Regions from separate parts of the Homo sapiens genome. Here all the other regions are linked to region 1. Evidence: promoter capture Hi-C in 16 types of primary human blood cells and fetal thymus (Javierre and others, 2016). All regions are on one chromosome and are shown on one strand. Each heading gives the region's core, a stretch centred on a gene start or on the middle of the fragment in contact. The rest is flanking DNA. Distances are from core to core; before and after follow the strand shown. Region 1 holds the start of SCGB1D4 (secretoglobin family 1D member 4). Region 2 holds the start of SLC22A8 (solute carrier family 22 member 8). Region 3 holds the start of SYT7 (synaptotagmin 7). Region 4 holds the start of SLC22A6 (solute carrier family 22 member 6). Region 5 holds the start of MYRF-AS1 (MYRF antisense RNA 1).

Region 1 (2,663 bases), core at 84-2,583:
TCCCCTGGGTTCTATGTTTCTATACCATTATTGTGCTGATGACAATACCAGAAACTCCAGGTGTGACTTTCTCCGGGTCACACAACAAAGGGAAGAGCTTCATATCCTCAGCTAGACTTCTTTTTCTTTTTTTTGAGATAGGTTCACCCAGACTGGAATGCAGTGGCACAATCTCGGCTCACTGCAGCCTGAATGTCTTGGGCTCAAGCGATCCTCCCTCAGCCCCCAAAGTAGCTGAGACTACCAGTGCCTGCCACCATGCCCGCTTTTGTGTGTGTGTGTGTGTGTGTGTGTGTGTGTGTGTGTTTTGTTTTGTTTTTTTTTTTTGTAGAGATGGGGTTTCGCCATGTTGCCCAGGCTGGTGCTGAACTCCTGAGCTCAAGTGATCTGCCCACTGTGGCCTCCCAAAGTGCTAAGATTACAGGAATGAGACACCATGCCTGGCCCACAGCTTGACTCTTGACAACCATAACCTTACTTCATTCTCATAGCCACTCCTGGCAGAAGCTTTAACCACCAGTGATAAGAGGAGGCTCAAGGAGGGTGAGCATTGTGCCCAAGATCAAGGGGTGGGAAGTGTCGAAGCCCAGGTTCACCCCAGACCTCACATTACATCATCTGACACAGATCCCATTCAGAAGTGAAGCTCAGGCAGAAGAATTCCTAACATTTGCCTGAACTGATTTTTCTATAAAACTTCTTAGATACTGGGGATTAGAAGAAATAGCTCTAAGCAGCCAGGCGCAGTAGCTCATGCCTGTTATCCCAGCACTTTAGGAGGCCGAGGCGGGCAGATCATCTGAGGTCGGGAGTTCGAGACCAGCCTGACCAACATGGAGAAACCCCATCTCTACTAAAAATACAAAATTAGCCAGCTGTGGTGGCCCATGCCTGTAATCCCAGCTGCTCAGGAAGGCTGAGGCAGGAGAATCACTTGAACCCCGGAGGCAGAGGTTGCAGTGAGCCAAGATCATGCCACTGCACTCCAGCCTGGGCAACAAGAGCAAAACTTCTCAAAAAAAAAAAAAAAAAAAGGAAGAAGAAAGAAGAAATAGCTCTAACCTTTATGAATCTTATTCAACAAGCACAGAAAAGGGTTTGGAATTTTGTTTGGTTTTGTGCAGACCCCAACCCAAAGCACAAATAGGTGATCTTGTGCTCAGAAGAGGGTGCATCCCAGGGGCTGGTGCTGGACTCATGACTGATGTACTCACCCTGGTAGCAGCAAAGGGCCAGCGAGACCATCAGGAGACACACTGACAGCCTCATGGTGGCTTATTCGGCTGTGAGCTCAGCTTTCACAATGAGTGATTTGGATTCGACTCCAGGAGCCTGTGTAGTCATGGAGGCCAGGGCTATTTGTACCTAGGGAGCCTGGCTGGTCCTACCTACCGGGGCACCTGGTAGGTCATGAGGCCTGGCTCCCAGCCCGCCCTTCCAAGCCAGGGCTGCTGCCGTCCATCAATGTCACCTCCTTAGGAATCTCTGCATCTGAGTGGGGCGGAGCACAAGACAGCAGCCTTGTGAGAACTCTGCTCTGTGCTCCAGGTGAGTGTTCAGGTACATCTGGAAATGTTCCTGGGATCCTCAATTTCCTTATGAGCTTTTGCTGATTAGTTCTTTTTATCTTTGTAGCAGTGCAGGGGCACAGGTGAATTATGGCTTCACAAGGCACAGGAAGCTGGAAGGCTGTGTTCTCTTTATGGGAGAGCAGGGACATAAGGAGACCCTGCTTTGATCCCCCTGCATGTCTGACAACAAGCAGGCTTGTTTCAGTTGCACATTGGGAAAGTCTAATCCTTCCCCTCAGCCCCTTCCATCACCACCATGTTCACTGCATAGGTACTGAAAACATAGTTGAATACATCCCACCTGTAGAAGATATGCTGAGGAAAAACATCTGCTGCACCTGTTCTCTAGCCTGCCTCACTCCCAAACCTGAATCTTGTTTATACGTGCAGTTATATATATGGCCAAGATTCACATTTTCTATCTATAAAAAGCAAGCTTTCTGTGATGTGTAGCCACCCACGTCTTATCTTAGGGCTGATCTGAAGATTAAATAACCTAACTCTTTTTCTCAAGAGCTTTTGGAGTGTTCAGAGCCAATCATACATCAGTGGGGCTCTAGGCTGGGAAGATAATAGAAGGGAAGAGACAGAGGAACAGGGTGGGTGGTCACTTCCCCCTAACCCCTAGGCTCAAGTTTTCCACTTCAAACCTATCTGTGCTGCCTGGGCCAATCCCATTTTTAAGGGAAAGTGAAGGAAGCCCCCAGACAAAGCAATACACACCCGCCTTCCCTCCCATTGCCGTGCCTTCATGTGGTGTGAGTTTAATCACCAGAAATTTTTCTCTTAAATAAACTTACATTTGAGAGGAGTCACAGCCCAGGCCATAGCTTTCCATTCTCAGCTATGTAGTCAAATCACTTGGAGCTTTTAAAACATACTGACCCCACAGGCTTCTCTCTCTGGCGATTTTGATTCAGTAGCATTGGGGTGAATCCCTCCTTTCTGTACTGTTTAAACTGCTCTGGTGTTTCTCACAGACAGCAGGGCTGAGATCCAGCCAGGAAAACCTTTAAGAAGGAAGGGGACCTTACGGGTTTTGTCATCAAAGACACATTGACAGATTTAGTTGAGTCCAAGCTGAGGGCAACA
Region 2 (2,663 bases), core at 115-2,614, 720 kb after region 1:
TCTGCACTCAGGTCCTTCCTCTTTGCCTGCCCAGTGACCTGTCCTCAGTTCCTGGGAACACCAGACCCCAGCCTCCTCTGCTGCCCACCAGCGGTGCAGGGTATGGGGGTACGTGGGTAAGTGGAGGGAGAGGGTTTGCCCAGGCATACCTCTGTCACAATGGAGTCCTTGGTGCTGTTGTAGACCCAGCCATCCAGGCATGGCTCCATGGCCCTCTGGGTGTCATTGGGCAGGCTGGCATTGGGCGGATGTACAAAACGGAGGCACCTCTCAGGCTTCCCATTTGGGCCCATGGGGAGCACCCAAGGCCCTGTGGAGGCATTGTGGGGCGGGCGACAGTGGTGGACAGGGGTGGCGGCTGTGAAGATCTGCAGCAGGTTGTGGTTGGCCATGTTGAGGATCGGGAGGCCCAGTATGGCTACATGCAGGAACTGGAAATGGCCCATGCTTCCCACACGGTCCAGGATCTCCGAGAAGGTCATGGCACTGGGGCAAGACGAGCCAGAGCTGTGGGCAGGGCATAGGCCAGGGAGAGGTATATTTGTGCCTGGTAGTGCGTGGGTCTATGGAACGATATGTGGGAGGGTGAACCAGGTGGATATGCGAGCACAGGTGTGTGGAGCAGAGCATGTGTAAGTGTGTAAAGATGTGGAAGCTCAGGCATGTGGAGCCGCAGATTCTTGTGTGGATGTCTGAGGAAGAGCCCAGCTGCACGGAGGGCTGTGGGATCAAAGGTGGAAGTGTGTGTCCAGGTGTGTGGACACAAAGGTATCTATGGGTATGTGCTCATTTAGGCTGCAGCATAAGGACACAGCTGCGTGAGCTCGGGTATGTGTTGTGAGCGTGTGCACCTGCGGACACGAGCATGTGTGTGCTCAGCTAGGCTGGTTGCACATGCTGCATGCATGGAGCAGTGCAGGACACGTAGCAGGGACCAAGGGGCCCAGCCTTGGATGTTGGCTACAAAGGACAGATTAGAGGGTGGGTGGTGAATGTCCCCAGTTGCTCCAGGCAGATACACAGGGTTAGCAGAGTTCAGGTTGTCTGCTGGGAAAGGCCTCCCCAAGCTCAGAGCCTCCTGGCTTCTGGCAGTTCCCTGGGGCTGGGCCCACCATGCTGGAGTATCTGTAAGAGCCCGAAGCAGGTCTCAGAGGGCACTAGGGGCTTGGCTAGTCGCAAGTGGAGCCTGGCCTTGGGAGATCCCTGGGATTCCTAGGTGCCTGGGCTGGGGAGGCCCTCCATCCCTCCTCACCTGGTGGCCGGGTCTGGATCCGATGGGGCTGGTGATCAGTGTAGTTGAGGTCCCTGCTCTGTCCTAGGGGCCGGCAGCTGCTGTAGTAGGGCAGCTCAGCTCTAACAAGCTGTGTTTGTGCCTCCCCCAGGGGGGCTTATATAAGGCATAAGCTGTTTCCCGGGCTAATGTTTGACTTTCTTTTGCGGATTAACGTCACTGGCAGGGAGAGTGCTGTGGACCCACCAAGCCCAGCTCTCCTCAAAGGGCTGCCTCAGCGAGGGCCGCTGGGGGTGGGGCAGCGTGGCTGAGCCTAGCAGGGCTGCTGGCTGGACACCACGGGCCCAAATGGGAAGTCTGAGACGTGCCTCCGTTTTGTACATCCGCCCAACGCGAGCAGCCCTGGCAGGCTCACCGAGGGGAGATTCTGGGAAGGAATCTGGCCTGACCTCTGAGGGTTCAAGGTCCCTCTCAACTGATGTTCAGAGGACTTGATGCTGAGGACAACCAATGGGAAAGGCACTGGTGCCCGTAAGCAGGCAGCATTCTCCTGTGTGCTACCTCCCCTGCCTGGCACCTCCCGAGTAGGGGAAGGGGATTTGCCTCTCAGGAAGTGTTAGGGCACACCCAGACAGAAAATGTCACTTTCATCTATCCCTGAGGACGCAGGGCTGCCATCTCCTGGGCCCCTGGGGCAGCCAGGACCTCCGTGTCTGTGTCTCTGACACAGGTGAACTGCCCCCTTCCATCCCACCCTCAATGGACAGGCTTCTCTCCTGATCAGCCGCTTCCCCCTGGGGACCAAATGTAGTCCCTGCTGTTTTATTTTCACTCTGAATATTATTTTAATTATATAATAATGTGTGTTTCCTGCATAAAACATGGGAAATACAGACAAGCCAAACAAAACAAATCAAAACAAAGCAAAATGTCCAGTCTCACCTGAGAGCCTATCTGTTCTTCTGGTCTTTTCCTCAGCAGAGACTTCAGTCTAAGACCTCAACTTCTAGCCACCAACATTAGGCTCTTTTAACCCTCACGGCAGCCCTGTGACTAGTCTAGCATTAATAATTAGGGAACTGAGGCAAAGGGAGATTAAGTGACCTCCTCACCATCCCCCAGCCAGGAAGCACAGGGCAGGGGCAGGGTGGCCCTAAGCCTATTCCCTCCCTTAGAACCAACATTCTCTACGAAGCCTATGGGGGCACTGTACTATTAATATATTGCCTCTCCCTTAAAGAGCCACCTAGAGGTCTGGGCGGGGTGGCTCAAGCCTGTAATCCCAGCAGTCTGGGAGGCCAAGGTGGGTGGGTCACGAGGTCAGGAGTTCCAGACCAGCCTGGCCAATATGGTGAAACCCCATCTCTACTAAAAATACAAAAATTAGCCAGGCATGTGGCACGCGCCTATAGTCCCAGCTACTTGGGAAGCT
Region 3 (2,663 bases), core at 104-2,603, 720 kb before region 1:
GCCCCCAGGAGGCTGGCAGGAGGGAGCCTGGAGGCTCTTCGTTTGGGAGCACATCCTGGGCTGGGGAGTCGTGCTTTTAGCATCAGAGAGAAGCCCAGAAACAGACCCTGATGCCAGAACTGGCAGACTGGGGGTGCTGGGACTGGGTGGAGCACCCCAGGTGGGAGCGGGGATGGAGCCTGGGCAGGAGCTGCAGGGGACCTGCCTACAGGTGGGCACTGGGTGAGGAGGCATCAGGAGCCAAGGAGGAAATGGCAGAGCAATTTCCGAGGAAGACGGGAAGATTCTTCGGCTTTGGCTTAGAGGATACCAAGCAGACAGTGGGCTCCCAGGCCACTCCCCTGGCGGGCGAAGCAGAAGGCAAAGGAGTTCGGCCCTCCCCCACCCCAGGACGGGAGAGAGTTTGGGGTTGTTTGCTTCCCCCTCCCCAAACCTAGGAGAACATTCTCTTGGCACCCCCATTCTCATGAGCCCCTGCTCTCTTTCCCTTCAGGCACCCCCGTCTCACCCATCAACGCCCCTGCAGTTCCCCACCCCCCAGAACCTCCCTGCCCAGCTGCCGCACCAGATTCCCACTTGCCCCCTGGCACCCTCTCAATTCACAGTTGGCACTGCGATGCCACTCCGCTCCCCTGTGCCCGCAACCTTGGCCAAGAGCTGCCGGGATCCTCGCCCTGGGGTCCGCCAGCGCTGGCACCCCCGGGGCACCGGTGCTGGGGAGCCTCGGGTGCCTCTGAGGGCACTGCCCGGCTCCCACAGGGGCAGCGGCTCCTCGCTCCGCCACACACGTTGTCCTTGGGCTGTTGAGGGGTGGGGGAGAGGTCCTTGTGGGGACACTGCGAAGCCGGTCCCAGACATCCAGCCTGGCAGTGTCCAGACTGCGGGGGACCGGGGTCCGAGCCGCTGCCGCTCGATCCCGCGCCCCCGGGGCTGGGATGACCCCTGGGGGAGCCCGTGCGGCTCCGGGCGGACAACAGCCCCAGGCTGGGGCTCCGAGACGGCGTCCGGCGCTGCCGCTGTCCTGCCCGCCGGTGCGGGGCGCCCCAGCCCGCCGGGGCCGCGCTTACCTGGGCTGGCCGCCTCCGGGTCCCGGTACATGGTCCCCTCGTCGCCGGTTCCCTCCGGGCTCCTCAGAGCCGCCCGCGGCCGCGCGCTGCTCCGCCGCCGCCGCTGGGCATGGGGCCGGGCGACCCCCGGGGGCGGGTCCGAGGGCGGGGGCCGAGCGGGCTGCACCTAGCCGCGGAGCCGGGGAGCGGGGGCCGCCCGCCAGCCCTCCCGCCCGCCCGCGGAGCACGCTGCCGCCGCCGCCGAACAGCGCCGAGCCGCCTCCCTCCGGCCTGCGCGCCGCGTGTGCGCGCCGGAGCGTGTGTGTGTGTACGAGGCCGTGTGTATGTGTGTGTGTGAGCGCGTGTGTGAGCGCGCCCGGGGCACCGCCGGCGCCGCCCGCCAGCCGCCGAACGCCGCGGCCACAGCCACCGCCTGCGCCCGCTGCCGGCCGCGCGCCGCACTGCACCCGCGCCCGCCGCCGCCCGAAGCCGCCCCGAGGGCACGGCCGCCGCCCCGCGCCCCGCCCGCCTCGCAGTCCCCGCGGGGAGGGCCGCCGAGCCCCACGGCCGGGCTCGTCCGGCCAGGGGATCCGGCTCCGCTGCGCGACCCACCCCCAGCCCGTGCTCCCCCGATGGCCGCGGCCTGGCACCGGGCAGGGCCGCAGAGCCGGCCACCTCCTCCGAGGTGCCCTTTGGCTCCGATCCAAAAGGCGTGGAGATCCACTCCGGGTTTTCCGCTTGCTGGCGGCTCGAGGGCGTCAGCTCCGGACTCAACACCGCGGCGGTCCGGGGCAGACGGACTGGTGTGTGCAAAAACCAGGAGTGGAATTTTTGGCAGCGCTGAGCCTGGGTCCGCCAGTCCGGTCTTTCTGCAAGCTCGCACACAGGTGGAGCCGAAAGGGCTAAGATCCCTGCCCTCGGTAGGAGGTTTGGCCTAGTGACCCTCCTCACCTAACCCAGCCCCACGAAAGAAGAAAATAGACTTTTCAGCCTCTGGCTATCCCTCTATAGCAGCAGCTCCTCCTCTGATCCTCCCCTCTATTCCTTGACCCTAGCACTTCGGAGGGTAGGAAGGAAATCCCTCCTTCTCCTTCCAACCCTGGACCTCTCTTGGTCCCCTCTGCCTCTCTGCCGGCTCAGCACAGTCTAAATCAGGTGAACACTCATTTCTCTACAGAATTTGGATGATTTGATTCTGGGGCAGGGAGGAGAAGAGACCTGTCTCCTAAGGATAAGAAAAACCCAGAAATGAACCATTAGTGGTATGGTAGGCACAGAGACCTCCCTGCACACACCTACACACGTAATCACCTACATACACACACACACACACACACACAGACATGATGCCCCCCACACACACACCCACACAGACATGCTGCCCACACAAAGAGACACATACACTGACGCTCCCCACAATACAGGTGCTGCCCCTACCCTTCACTGATGGGTCAGGTAAGAGGGCAAAATCCCTGGGTCTGTGGCAGCATCCTGCCCTCCCCTGTGCTGAGAATGCAGTTTGCAGGTGAGCCAGGCTTCCTAGAGTCAAGGATTATTATTTCCACCCTGAGAAATCCACTTTTGCTGGCTTTATACTGCACTACTCATGCCCAGCCA
Region 4 (2,663 bases), core at 1-2,500, 690 kb after region 1:
CAGGGCCCTGGAGACTGATGGGGGTCAGGCTGAGCCAGGAGAGGAGGGCTCACCCTGGATGATGCCTGGGCTGGGGCCTTTTGAGGACCTCTGAAGTATGAGGCTGGTGCTGTAGATCCTCAAACCAGCGCCGGCTGGCAATGCCAAGCTCCCACCTAGACACCCTGAGCCCAGCTGAGCCCCTAATCCCAGCCCAGCCCAGCCCCTTGACCCTACCCAGGACTGACCTGTCTGCAAGGTAGCCGAACACCATGGCTCCGAGCAGCACCCCCACCATGTACAAGGACTGGGCCAGCTGGCGTAGGGCCCTGTGAGAGCACACAAGGTCCCACTGTGGGGAGAGGAGCAAGGGTCAGGCAGAGATGAGCCTGGCTTCAGAGAATCCCCTTCCCCCACTTCAGCTGGTCCTCTGGGGTCCATGTCACCCTCTTCCTCCGGCACTTTGCCCTTTGCCTCTCTGGTCCTGACAGCTGAGAGCATTTTTCTTTTTAACTCAGCAGTTAAAAAACTCAGCAGTTAATTTCTCCATGTACTTTTTTTTTTTTTTTAACAAAGGCCCCCATCTTCCCATCTTGGCCCCTGGATGGGGAGCCCCAGGTGCTCACCTCAGTCACGATGGTAGATGGGAAGGTGCTGTTGTCATAGATCCAGCCATCGGTGCAGGGCTCTGTGGCCCCTGTGCCATTGGCTTCTGTGCCATTGAGAAAGGGCAGTCCCCACTGCGGGGAGGTGAAGCGGAGGCAGGACTCAGGCTGCCCCTGCCTGTCCCGGGGCAGCCAGACCTCCAGCCCCCCGTTCTTGCTGAGGTTGGCATCGGCAGGCGGGCGGCAGTGGTGGGTAGGGATGGCAGCAGTGAAGTTCTGCAGGGTGTTGTGAGAAGCCATCAGGAGCAGGGGGAGGACCACCAGGGTGACCTGGATCTGCTGGAAGCGGCCGACACCCCCCACCTGCTGCAGGAGGTCATTAAAGGCCATTGGGCCAGGCCCAGCCCAGTGGCTGGGGGCTGAGGCCTTCCAGTCCCAGGACCTCTGTCTGTCTGCCTGCCTGCTGTCCTTCGCTGGAGGAGCAGCACTGCCGTTGCCTCCGCAGCTGGGTTGCTCCGGGAGCTGAGTCCGAGCTGCTCTGTGGGGGGACAGCAGCCTCCTTGGCTGCTCCTCCTTCTTCCCCGGTCTCCCTGATCTGTCCCTCCCTTTTCCCTTGCAGCTTCTCCTCACTTTGGGGGTCAGGGCAGCTCAGCTTTCAGGGTCTGCTGGAGACCTGACCCTTGCATGGGCAGTTTTTAATCCTTGGCCTGGAGGGAATGAGTTAAAGTGTGACTTGGTATCAGAAGGATTAACCCTCCAAGGATTCCTTGTGTCAGTGGAATTTCTCCAAGTGGTTATAAAGGGCAGGAGAGGGTGGACTGAATAGGAGCAGGGAGAGGGGTGTATTAGGGGGGCATCTGGGGGCAGGGGGGGCCAGAGTGGGATCTATTGGACCTATTTGTCTTCCTTTTAGGAAGGAGACTGGGCTCTGGGAAGTGTGGTGGCCTCTTGAGGAGTTTCTGCCCTTTTTAGTGGATGAGATCCAAATAGTCTGCTTTTGGGAAGGGTTGCCAGGGAAATTACAGGGTGCCCAGTCAAATTTGCATTTTAGGTCAATGAAGAGTTTTTAAAAGTATGAGTATGTCTCTAATATTGCATGAGACATACTTATACTAAGCAATTCTTCATTGATTTGAAATGCAAATTTGACTGGGCACCCTGTATCTTTATTTGCTAAATGTGACAACCCCAGTCTTTGTTCTTCTGGGGACAGCTCACATCTTATAGAACCATGGTTTTATTCATTTGGAAGAAACAACAGAAGTCAGAGGCCGCTCTTGGAGTGGGACCTAAGACCAACGTCATACACAATGTCGGGTGATTCTTCCAGTGATTCTTCTGACCCTTCCAAGGGTCAGATTTTTCCCTTAGTCATATTGTCTTCTGTCCATAGTGTCTTTTTTCTTTTCTTTTCTTCTTGTTTTCTTCTCTTCTCCCCTCCCCTCCCCTCCTTTGTCACCTCCCCTTCGCTCCCCTCCCCTCTCCTCCCCTCTTCTCTTCTCTTCTCCTCTCTTCTCTTTCTTTTTGAGACACAGTCTCACTCTGTTGCCCAGGCTGGAGTGCAATGGTGCAATCTCAGCTCACTGCAACCTCTGCCTCCCAGGTTCAAGTGATTATCATGCCTCAACCTCCCGAGTAGCTGGGATTATGGGCATGTGCTACCACGCCTGGCTAATTTTTGTTATTTTTAGTAGAGATGGGGTGTCACCATGTTGGCCAGGCTGGTCTCGAACTCCTGACTTCAGGTGATCTGCCCATCTCAGCCTCCCAAAGTGCTGGGATTATAGGCGTGAGACACCATGCCTGGCCTCTTTAATTTATTTTTGAGATAGGGTCTCACTCTGTCATCCAGCCTGGAGTGTAGTGGCACAATCTTGGCACACTGCAGCCTTGACCTCTCCAGGCTCAGATTATCTTCCCAGTTCAGCCTCCTGAGTAGCTAGAACTACATGTGTGCACCAGCACACATGTATTTATTTATTTTTAAGAGATGTGGTTTTGCTATGTTGCCCAGGCTGGTCTTGAACTCCTGGGCTCAAGCAATCCACCTGCCTCAGCCTTCCAAATGGCTGAGATTAC
Region 5 (2,663 bases), core at 1-2,500, 540 kb before region 1:
GGAATCCGGGGGCTGAGCTGGGCTTCGTGATGGGGGTGGCACTGTGGCCCGTGTCAGCCTGTCTCTGTCTGTCCCTGGTGCACCCAGGGAGTAAGTAGATGGGAGGGGTGGCCAGGCACAGGGTTTCCTGAGCCCAGGCAGGGGAGGAAATGGTAGTAGGGGGTCTGACTCATCCCCATGTCCCCAGCACCCAGTGCAGGGCAGGGGTGGGGGGTGGGCAGGAAGTGCTCTCCGGGTCAATGGTGACAACAATGGGTATGTGAACAGAGGCGGCGGGGGTGGGGGACGCACCCCAGAAAGCACCTCTCTGGAGGGCCTGGGGTCAGTGCAGGGGTGAGAAACAGGCAGTTACCAACCCTTTGGCCTCAGGGACTCTCCTGAGACTGGAAGGCTGGACAGAGTGCTCCTTGGGGTCTTAAGTAGAGCCAAGGAGGGCATTTGAGGGCAGAATGGCCTTTTCCCTGGGGGCCTGACTCCCCAATTACCAACTCCCAAGGGGTTACAGACTGGAGGGCCCTGGCAGCAGAGGCTGCTGGGTAACAGCCCAGCAGAGCTGCTCATTGGCTGCCACCCTTGGACTTTGCCCTCCCTGATAAGGAACTGGGAGCAGAAATTATTAACTGAATCATTAACTGGGTGGCCCCGCCCTACCCAGGCAGCCTGCCTTACCTTCCCACCTTCCTCTTCACGGACCTAGCACCTTCCTGGGCCTCAGTTTCTCTCATTGCCTTGGGTGCTGGAGTATGTGGGGCCTCCTCTCCTATCTCCAGGCCTTCAGCCCCGGCTGCCACGGGGTGTGGGTACCTCTTGGTTGGGTCTCGGGGTAGGATGATGTAATGGTTCTGTGCATTCGCCAGCGAGGGCAGCTGGGGTCTGTTCCTAGCTCTCCTGCTTACCCACAGTGCTTCTCTTGGCCGTATCAGGGCACCGCTGTGCCTCCGCTTTCTCATCTGTAAAACGGGAGTGCAGTTGTAATGGCAGGGCCTCCGTCCCAGGGTTTCTGGGGTGATTAGGTAAGATTGTGCCTGGCCTGGTGAACACTCCATTGGTCCATGGCAGGTGTTCTGCGCCCTACCTTGAAGATTACTGGTCCCCAGGGTAGGTCAGTGCCCCTAAGCTTAGGGGGCTTGTTGAGCATGTTCTGTGGTTCTGTGTGCAAGGCCTGAACCATGACAGCTCTGGCCCAGCGTGGCCTGGTCCTGGTCCCTGGCACATCCAGTGGGGCCCGCCCCACCTCCCCCTCTGAGATTTGGGTTCTGTTCTTGCTGCCAGCAAGGAGGAGGGGCTTGGCTGTATTGTGACTTCATCTGCTGCACCCAGGCTCTTTGCACGTTGTCTTCCTGGAGTCCTGGGGTGCAGTGGAAGCGTGGGTGACGGCCTCCCATTTCTGAGGGGGACTGTGAGGCAGGACAGGAAGGCGATGATGTGTCAGGCTCCCTCAAGGTGGCCACAACAGAGCTGGGACTGGAGCCTGGGTCCCAGCTCTGTGCCAGCCTGGGATGGGCAGGGAAGGGGCCTCTCCTCCTGACATGCTGAGGGGTGGCTCCAGCACGGGTGGCCACGCCAGGTGATGTCCGTGCAGCCTCCTTGACCTCTCTAGACCTCAGAGCCCTCACTCACATGGTCAAGGTTGGGTGATGTTAGCAGTTAGATCCCACGAGTGCCAAGGCCTGGAGTGAGGGGGGGAGGGGCAAAGCCCCTGGGTGGGGAGTACAGTTGGGTCCGGAGCCCCCTGCCGGCCTAGAGTATGGAGGGGGCTCCCGGACATTCTGTCCTCCCTGTGCCCCAGGTCGCATCAGTGAGGGAAGTTCTCCCTCCAGCTGACCGGGGTCCGTGCAGCCACCGGAGTGCACAACCACAGCCTCTGTCTCTCCTTTGTGGAGTTTGAGGATCCTATCTCCCTCCGGCCTCCCTCACTCCCCTCTCTTCTCCCTCTATGGCTGGGGCAAGGGGATCCCCATCCCCTGCCCTGCTAGCTTGGAGGAGGGAAGTTGTGCCTGTGACACTGAGTTCACTCAGTGGGGCCTGGCTCCAGCCGGAGCTGCTTAGGGAGGGTCTGACAGCAGGCGGGGAGGGGGCTTGGAGGGAAGAAGAGGAGGTGGGAGCTCTTCCTGGGTGGCCACTAACCTAACCCATGCATGTGACGCTGTGCCTGTGGGCCTGGGCCTGTCGTCGGGTCAGTGAGTGTTTGTGTACATGCGTGTCCTGGCATATACACCTGTGAAGTGTGCTGAGGTGTGAACATGCACAGGCATGCTCGTACCTCAGGGCTTTTGCACCGGCTGTCCCCGCCATCTGGAACCTTCTAGAATGCTAGGCATTTTGCTGCTCTCGTCATCTGACTCTGCTCCCTAGAATGTCAGCTCCATGTGGGCAAGGCTTTTGTCCCTTTTGCTCACTGCTGTAGCCCCAAAGCTGGGCACTATGCTTGCCTGGCACATAACAGGTGCTCAGTAAATAACTGCTGAATGAATGAAGGCACACGGATGAACGCTGGTGTGCGCATGTGTGTGGGTATATGTGTGGGGCATGCCACTGTGTGTCAGTACTGTGTATGTGTGAGTAGGGGGCAGGTGGTACGTGATCATGCGCATGTCAGTGGATACCTGACTGCAGGGTGTGCCCTTACATATATGTGTGTGTGTTGGCAGTGTGCCTGCGTG

What was found. The method cuts DNA at HindIII sites, captures the fragments that hold promoters and counts their contacts. A CHiCAGO score of 5 or more calls a contact.
Region 2: a contact is called between the fragment with the promoter of SLC22A8 here and the fragment with the promoter of SCGB1D4 in region 1, in 4 of 17 cell types (activated CD4 T cells, non-activated CD4 T cells, erythroblasts and 1 more). The highest score is 8.0, in activated CD4 T cells.
Region 3: a contact is called between the fragment with the promoter of SYT7 here and the fragment with the promoter of SCGB1D4 in region 1, in 4 of 17 cell types (M1 macrophages, M0 macrophages, neutrophils and 1 more). The highest score is 6.8, in M1 macrophages.
Region 4: the fragment with the promoter of SLC22A6 here is called in contact with the fragment with the promoter of SCGB1D4 in region 1 in 10 of 17 cell types (total B cells, total CD4 T cells, naive B cells and 7 more); the score reaches 15.1 in total B cells.
Region 5: a contact is called between the fragment with the promoter of MYRF-AS1 here and the fragment with the promoter of SCGB1D4 in region 1, in 4 of 17 cell types (M1 macrophages, naive B cells, activated CD4 T cells and 1 more). The highest score is 10.8, in M1 macrophages.

What each region holds. Positions count from the first base shown.
Region 1 is chr11:62,297,742-62,300,404 of GRCh38, forward strand. It overlaps SCGB1D4 (secretoglobin family 1D member 4), which reads right to left and starts at 1,334. Exons shown (of 3, transcript NM_206998.2): 1 at 1,215-1,334. The coding sequence starts at 1,269. The HindIII fragment of the contact is 1,500 bases long and covers 506-2,005 here.
Region 2 is chr11:63,014,477-63,017,139 of GRCh38, forward strand. It overlaps SLC22A8 (solute carrier family 22 member 8), which reads right to left and starts at 1,365. Exons shown (of 11, transcript NM_004254.4): 1 at 1,253-1,365; 2 at 150-507. The coding sequence starts at 482. RefSeq lists an enhancer at 370-1,224. The HindIII fragment of the contact is 16,699 bases long and covers 1-2,663 here.
Region 3 is chr11:61,579,723-61,582,385 of GRCh38, forward strand. It overlaps SYT7 (synaptotagmin 7), which reads right to left and starts at 1,354. Exons shown (of 13, transcript NM_001365809.2): 1 at 1,068-1,354. The coding sequence starts at 1,098. It overlaps LOC105369331 (a long non-coding RNA gene), which reads right to left. Exons shown (of 5, transcript XR_950166.3): 5 at 1,684-2,271. RefSeq lists silencers at 1,375-1,464, 1,485-1,634, 1,645-1,804. The HindIII fragment of the contact is 6,758 bases long and covers 1-2,663 here.
Region 4 is chr11:62,983,717-62,986,379 of GRCh38, forward strand. It overlaps SLC22A6 (solute carrier family 22 member 6), which reads right to left and starts at 1,251. Exons shown (of 10, transcript NM_153276.3): 1 at 606-1,251; 2 at 228-331. The coding sequence starts at 974. RefSeq lists an enhancer at 388-938. The HindIII fragment of the contact is 6,991 bases long and covers 1-2,663 here.
Region 5 is chr11:61,756,414-61,759,076 of GRCh38, forward strand. MYRF-AS1 (MYRF antisense RNA 1) reads right to left here and starts at 1,251. Exons shown (of 4, transcript NR_026882.1): 1 at 1,076-1,251; 2 at 670-950. All of the region lies in intron 1 of MYRF (myelin regulatory factor), which reads left to right. RefSeq lists enhancers at 1-838, 1-347, 348-991, 432-481, 992-1,635. The HindIII fragment of the contact is 8,901 bases long and covers 1,116-2,663 here.